2 separate regions of the Homo sapiens genome follow, and region 2 is linked to region 1. The links are contacts of gene promoters, found by promoter capture Hi-C in human tissues and cell types (Jung and others, 2019). All regions are on one chromosome and are shown on one strand. Each heading gives the region's core, a stretch centred on a gene start or on the middle of the fragment in contact. The rest is flanking DNA. Distances are from core to core; before and after follow the strand shown.

Region 1 (3,447 bases), core at 685-3,184:
AAACCTAATGCTGATTTAAAAAAAAATAAAAAAACCAATCAAGTCACAGAACACATACAGGATGACACCATGTACACAAACTTCAAGAACATTCAGAACTATAAAATATATAGAGATGCATTATGTAGTAAAACTAATTTTTTTCTAACAAGGGAAATGATAAACACAATTCAAAATAGTGTTTACCTTTGTAGAAGGAAGAGGGGAGACAGTCAGGAAGGGGCACCCTGAGAGCTTCAACAGAAGCGATAATGCTCTGTTCCTTAAGCTGAGCGAAACAGAAAGATGTACTCTCATCATTCCTATCTGGGATATATATATAAAACAATATTATCCAGAATAAAGGTGGGGAAAGGAAGACAGTCGAGGGGGGAGCCCAGCAATCCTCTCTAACTCTGACTTACACATCCGTCTGCCTAACCAACAGTGAGGAGACAGCCCAAGACTTCAAGGCAACAGAATCAACTCAGCTACAAGGTGACAAAAAAGAACACCTCCAGGCACTTCTCTGGGCTTTCTGGGTGAAACCAGCTCCACACACCGTCTTATTCAAGTGGCAAACTGTAAGACACAGCACCCTGTCCCCAGAGTTGGAGACAGACTGCCTTGCCAATACAAAAACAGAAAATATTCCCAAACTCAGGCCTATTTTGCCAATGGAAGGAAAGTCCCCAGATGGTTCCAACAGACAGAGAGCAATGGATTGAATTTAGGAACAAGGCAGTAATTTCATACAGCCCTGCAGAGCTGGGAGATTCTGGGACCAGTTTTAGTGGGGGAGGGGAGGTAAAAATACACTTGAGGACACATTAAATAGGGCCCCAAAACTAAGAGCCTAGCGCTTGGGACAGAACGTGTGTAATATGAAGTTCAAATGAACATGTGTGCCGAAGGCTAATGAGAAGCCCCTAGGGTGATTATATGAGCTTTACCTGCAAGAGGTGACAATCGAGTTTGGCACATGCTGAGTCTATTGGGAAATAATAATATCAAGAGATCTATACCACATCCATGTATGTACAGCTCCCGGCGCCGGCGAGGCAGGAGAGTGACTTACTCAGGGAAACTGACTGCCAGGAAGGCCGGATTCGGTCAGCCCAATCGGAGAAAGCCCGGGGCCGAGGCCAGAAGGTCCCTCGGGGAGGACAGAAGGGTGGTCCCGGCCCCAGGCAGAAGGTGGGGCTGCCAGGAGAGGGCGGGTCCCCGTGGCAGGAGTCCCGGGAGGCCTGGCTGGAGCCAGGCCGGGCCGCGGGACAGTCGGGGAGATGGAGGGCGGGGACCCCATGGGCGCTGGGGCGGGGAGGGCTGGGCCCCGGCGGCCACCCCGCTCCCCCGGCGCCCCGCCGCACCCTCCCGCGCTCACCTAGGCACGCAGCTGGACGAGCTCCGGTCCACCTCCCAGGTGGCGTACAGGTTCATCTGCACCGGGGCGGGGGTGCGGCCTGGCCCCGGGCCACCGGGAGGCGCGGAGCCCGAGGCCACCGCCACGGCCATGGAGGTGGAGGTAGACGAGGACGAGGAGGAGGCAGCCGCCGCCGAGGTGGACGAGGACGACGAGGTGGCCTGGGCCAGCTTGGGGGGCGTCGGCTGCTGCGGCGGCTGCTGCTGCTGCTGCTGCGGCGGCGGCTGCTGAGGGGACTGGGCGACCCCGGATCCCCGCTGGCCGCTGCCGCCCCCGGCGCCTCCGGGACCACCGCCCGCCCCTCCGCGTTCCGCCATGGCCCGGCTAGGCGGGGGTTACGGAGGCCGAGGCGACGCCGATCTGGCTCCCAGGCTTCCCCCGCGGCGGCGGCGGCGGGGGCGCGGCAGCCTCCTCAGCCCGCCTGCCCGAGCGCGAGCAGCCAGCGAGCTGCACGCACGCGCGGGGCCTCTGGGCGCGCGGGCCTCGCGCTCGACCGCCGCTGCCTGTTGCGGCTCGCGAGGCCGACACGGGTGGGCGTGTCCGGGAGGGGGCGGGGAGCCCGGCCCGCGCGGCCCCACCCAGCGCGGAGGGGCCGGGCCGGGCGCGCTCGCGCCCTGCGTGCAGCCACGCGCGCCCCTCGCTCCCGCGGAGTAGAAGGGGTGGTCTGTGGCCAGCGCGCGCCCACGGGTCCTGCCCTCAAATCCGCTGCCAGTCTGCCCCCGCTCCTCCCCTCCCCGCCCACGGCCGGCCGCGGCCCCGCCAGCGGAAACCCGGCTTTTCCGGGATTCGGTCCCTGCAGGGAGGGGGCCGCCGCGGGAGCGCGCCTCGGCCCCTCGGGTCTTCGGAGCCAATGCGGAACCCGCCCCCAGCGGTGGGGGTCTGCCCGGGGAAGCCGGCTCTCCGCCTGCCGACCTAGCCCTGCCCTGCGGCCCCGGCAAACAGAGAGGTCGGCGGAGACCCGGGGCCCGCTGCCACCGCGGGTGCCTGTGATCCGGGAAGTTCCCGCCCCGAGGGCAAGCGGGGGCTCAGGGACCTGGAGTCCAGAAGGTTCTTCGCATAAGTGAATTCTCAAGCTACCCCGGGGCCCATCTGGAGCCAACCTTCCTCTTCTTTCCCTACCCCCCAAATGCCTCTTTAGAGTGCCAGTGCTTTGTTGCTTACCAAATTTCTAAAATTCCATTCCTCCTAAGGCCTAGCTCAGCTGCCACGTCCTATCTGGATCATGCCCCCCACAACCCCGAGACCATCTTGAACCCTCCGGCAAGTGAGCGCCTCCACTGGTGCACTTAAACACCAACAGTAGTACAACAGCAGCGCATGACTACCCTCCCCACAGGCTGGCAAATGCCCATGGGAGCCAGTGATCCAGCCTGCTCTAGTCTGTCAGAAAGGCTGCTCAGGACCAGATTACAACCTGGAGAAAGTAAGTCCCCCCATCCCACATACAAATCCCAAACCCCAGCGACTAGTGTTGCTTGAACCCAAGGGTTCATATGGACTCAAGACAATTTAGCTTTTGAGCTATGTTGTCGCACAGGTAAGGACTTGAACTTCTGGTCACAAGGTCAGTTGGGAAGGCCTGCCCTGGCCTACTTCCCAAGCCCACTGTTACTTCCTCTGCCGCGCTAGGGCGCTAATCTGGCTATTTTTACTCCCCAAGGACAAAGTAGTAAGGTCAAACCAGACCTAGAGGTACTTCCCCCAAGCCTTCCTACAAAGCAGGGCAGTGGTGAAACACAGATTTCAGCCTGGGGTTGGCGTCACCACCAGTCAAATGCGCCGTCTAATCCCAGTTTATGTTCGTGGTTACTGGGGCAGCCCAGTGATTGTAGAAAGAGACTATTTTAGTCCTTTTGCAAGAAGGGGCTAAAAGGAGATGAGGGAGGCTCAGGAGTGTTAAATATTCATCTCTTTCCTTGGGAAACAGCTTTATTTACAAAACAGGTCTAAAATAAGAACATGAAATGACAAGTCCTTGGGAACTGCGGGAGAGGTGGTTCTTGTGTGAAGCCCAGGCATCCAGACGTAGGGCCAAAAAAAGGGCT
Region 2 (3,502 bases), core at 388-2,887, 330 kb after region 1:
CTCCTGGTCCAGAATCAATGTGCCTACTATAAGCAAAAGGACCATTCACAATGAGAATGTCCTAACCATCCCCAGCAAACGAGGGAAAAAGCTCCCCGTCAATATTAGAACTAACCTTCTTCCATATGTCCCAATGAGCCACCTTGCTCAAGTAAATTTACTCAGATTCCTGGACCCTTGACCCAATGGACAGCTTTTTGCAGTGGAAGACAAGTGGCCACCAGAACATTTTTCTTTGGTGTCTCCACTGCTAGATGCTCTGGTAGCTCAAGGACTCTGAGACCTCCCCTTGAGCAACATGGTTTACCACCTCCCTTCCTTATTTGATGCTATGGGGTCCCTTCTCTGCCTCTTCCTGTCTTCCCTACGTATCTGGGCAAACAAAATGTATTGAGATAGACAGGTCCCAATTTTATAAGTAACTTGGATCCATCTGTCTTGTGTAGGTCACTTCATTTGTGTGATGGGTGTTGTGTTTAGCATACTATCAAATTGGCTTATAAATAAAAGAGAATTCATAAATTAAAAAATAAGACTAGTCTAAATTTATTAGTTTGAAGGGAATGTTATGTCTTCTAAAATTTAACTTTAAGATTTTTACCTAGATGAACCTCTGATGTTTGTAGCCTTTAGAATGGTTAGGATGGCTTTTAAACAGTGAGCTTATGTATAGTTGAAAATCTTAAAGCTGTGAAATAGTTCTCATCTATAGAGTGCCAATGTCTGATGAGCAGTTCAGAATTTCTTGCTCTTTAGATTTATATAAAATAAGCCAAAGAAAGTGTGTTTTTTATTGGGAAAAATAATAATTTTTGTCTAATTTGGAAGTTATTAAAAGAGAGGTTCAAAATATGAAGGAACCAGTAAGTAGAAAAGAGAGATATGAAGAAAGTTATGGATAGATGTACTTTTTGCAAGGAAGAATACAAAGAAGGATACAAGGAAGGATATAAAGAAGGATACAAGGAAGAATACAAAGTTATTTTATATGAGGAGGGATCTTGTGTAGTAAATTCTTATCCTAGAGTAAAATGATGAGTTCTTTAAGGAAGGGGTCCTATAGGACAAGTCAGAAAGTCCAAGCATGTTGTAGATGGTCCATGTGGGTCATGATGGGGTTTGTGAAGGGGAATTTTGTGTATGATTAAGCTTAAGCTGACTATGACTAAAGGAAAACTGTGGTAGACTTTCTAGAGAATGGTCTATATATTGGCAACAGGTTTTCTTAAGGTATTGATTTGCTAAATTACAGGAAGTTTTGCTTTTAATAATCTACCTGGTTTATTTTAAAATGTCTTGGATTCATGTCTCAGAGATTCAACTGTTGTTGTGTCTCACTACTTTCAATTCTTTCTCCCTTTAAGAAGGCCTGGGATGATGGCTCTTTCCATCAACCTTTTCATCAACATTGTGACTTTTTTTCCTCTGGTTCTGACTATTGGGCCCTGGTACTAAAATGTTTTGTCTTAGAGGTCTGCGAAAACAGTGTTTTCCCCGAATATAGCTTGATTCTATGCTGTTTTTTTTTTTTTTTTACATATAACCTTATTATTGGCATTTAGTTTTTGACTCTTATATTGCTTTAAAAGATTTTAAGGGCAAATGAGTGCCTGCTCACCTCCATTTCCTTCTGACCTAGGATGTTTAATTGGCTATAAGTCTTTTGACTCTAAGTCCCTTAGCCAAAGGGAATTCCAAAGAAGCCTTCAAAAAAAAAGAAGTCAGACCATGACAGGAAACAGGGGGCCAAACATGCCTCACTGTGCCACCCCTTAGAATTTAGGCTAGGCACAAAGGCCCTTCAAAAATTATAATAACAAAGTACTTCCCTTTCCCACATAGGAAAGAAATAGCTCCTCTGTTCAACCTGAACACCTAGTCTTACAAAAAACTTTTTGTTAAAAAGGATCCCCAGAGGATCAATTACAACCCAAATGGAAGAGCCCCTATCAGGTATTGTTAAGTACCTTCCCTGCTGTTAAACTTCAGGGAATCACTAGTTGGGTACACCTGTCCAAGATTAAATCTGTTTCTTATGAATCCCTGACGGCATAAGAGGAGGACACCATGATTTACACCTGTGAGCTCCTATAAGACTTAAAGCTGTTGTTTCACAAACACAAAGATAAAAAACATGATGCCATGGGCATAGATGCATTAATTTTCTCATCCTCCAAATTATAATTTTCCTGTTGACCTCCTACTTAAGTTTATGTCTTCTAGATTCCACATAAAGATGATGCTGGCACAAGGTTTCAACCCATCCCATCTTATGACCTGAAAAATGAAAATATCCTGTTGGACCCCTTAGATCAGGTATCCAGAGATTACCAGAGGCTAGGGGCATGGGAGAGTGGGAAATGGGAAGATATTGCTCAAAAGGTACAAAGTTTCAGTTAGACAGGTATATTAGAGTTCTCTAAAGGGACAGAACTAATAGGATAGATGTATATATGAAGGGGAGTTTATTGAGGAGTAATGATTCACATGATCACAAGGTGAAGTCCCACAATAGGCTGTCTGCAAGCTGAGGATCAGGGAAGCCAGTCCAAGACCCAAAACCTCAAAAGTAGGGAAGCCAACAGTGCAGCCTTCAGTCTGTGAACAAAGGCCCGAGAGCTGCAAACCACTGGTGTAAGTCCAAGAGTCCAAAAGCTGAAGAACTTGGAGTCTGATGTTCGAGGGCAGGAAACATCCAGCAAGGGAGAAAGATGAAAGCCGGAAGGCTCAGCAAGTCAAGTCCTTCCATGTTCTTCTGCCTGTTTTAATCTAGCTGTGCTGGCAGCTGATTAGATGGTGCCACGCCAGACTAAGGGTGGGTCTGCTTCTCCCAGTCCACTGACTCAAATGTTAATCTCCTTTGGCAACACCCTCACAGACACACCCAGGAACAATACTTTGCATTCTACAACATTTTTATATTACTGTATTGTATTAGAGATGGGGTCTTACTCTGCCACCCAGGCTGGAGTGTAGTGGCACAATCATGGCTCACTGTAGTCTTGAACTCCTGGGCTCAAGTGATCCTCCTGCATCAGCCTCTCCAGTAGCTGGAGCTACAGGTGTGCATCACCACACCTGACTAATTTTTTTTGGGGGGGTAGAGATGGGGTCTCACTATGTTGCCCAGGCTGGTCTGAAACTATTGGCCTCAAGAAATCCTCTCACAGCTGGGTGCAGTGGCTCACACCTATAATCCCAGCACTTTGGGAGGCCAAGGTGGGTGGATCATGAGGTCAAGAGATTGAGACCATCCTGGCCAACATGGTGAAACCCCGTCTCTATTAAAAATACAAAAATTAGCTGGGTGTGGTGGCACGTGCCTATAGTCCCAGCTACTCAGGAAACTGAGGCAGGAGACTCGCTTGAACCCAGGAGGTGGAGGTTGCAGTGAGCCAAGATCACGCCACTGCACTCCAGCCTGGCAACAGAGCAAGACTCCATCTCAAAAAAAAAAAAAAGAAAAAGAAATCCTCTCATGTTAGCCTCCCAAAGCACTGGG

Evidence for each region. Contacts are between HindIII fragments. The study calls those that stand out against the background at their distance.
Region 2: a contact is called between a fragment that was not itself captured here and the fragment with the promoter of PACS1 in region 1, in 2 of the 25 tissues and cell types used here (IMR-90 fibroblasts and mesenchymal stem cells).

The regions. Positions count from the first base shown.
Region 1 is chr11:66,068,759-66,072,205 of GRCh38, reverse strand. PACS1 (phosphofurin acidic cluster sorting protein 1) reads right to left here and starts at 1,934. Exons shown (of 24, transcript NM_018026.4): 1 at 1,364-1,934. The coding sequence starts at 1,719. It overlaps SF3B2 (splicing factor 3b subunit 2), which reads right to left. Exons shown (of 22, transcript NM_006842.3): 22 at 2,898-3,447. RefSeq lists silencers at 990-1,194, 1,255-1,404, 1,415-1,544, 1,695-1,744, 1,755-2,374. The HindIII fragment of the contact is 13,254 bases long and covers 1-3,447 here.
Region 2 is chr11:65,734,616-65,738,117 of GRCh38, reverse strand. No RefSeq gene overlaps it. Among named protein-coding and RNA genes, the nearest start is that of RNASEH2C, 16 kb to the right of the region's middle. The HindIII fragment of the contact is 9,114 bases long and covers 1-3,502 here.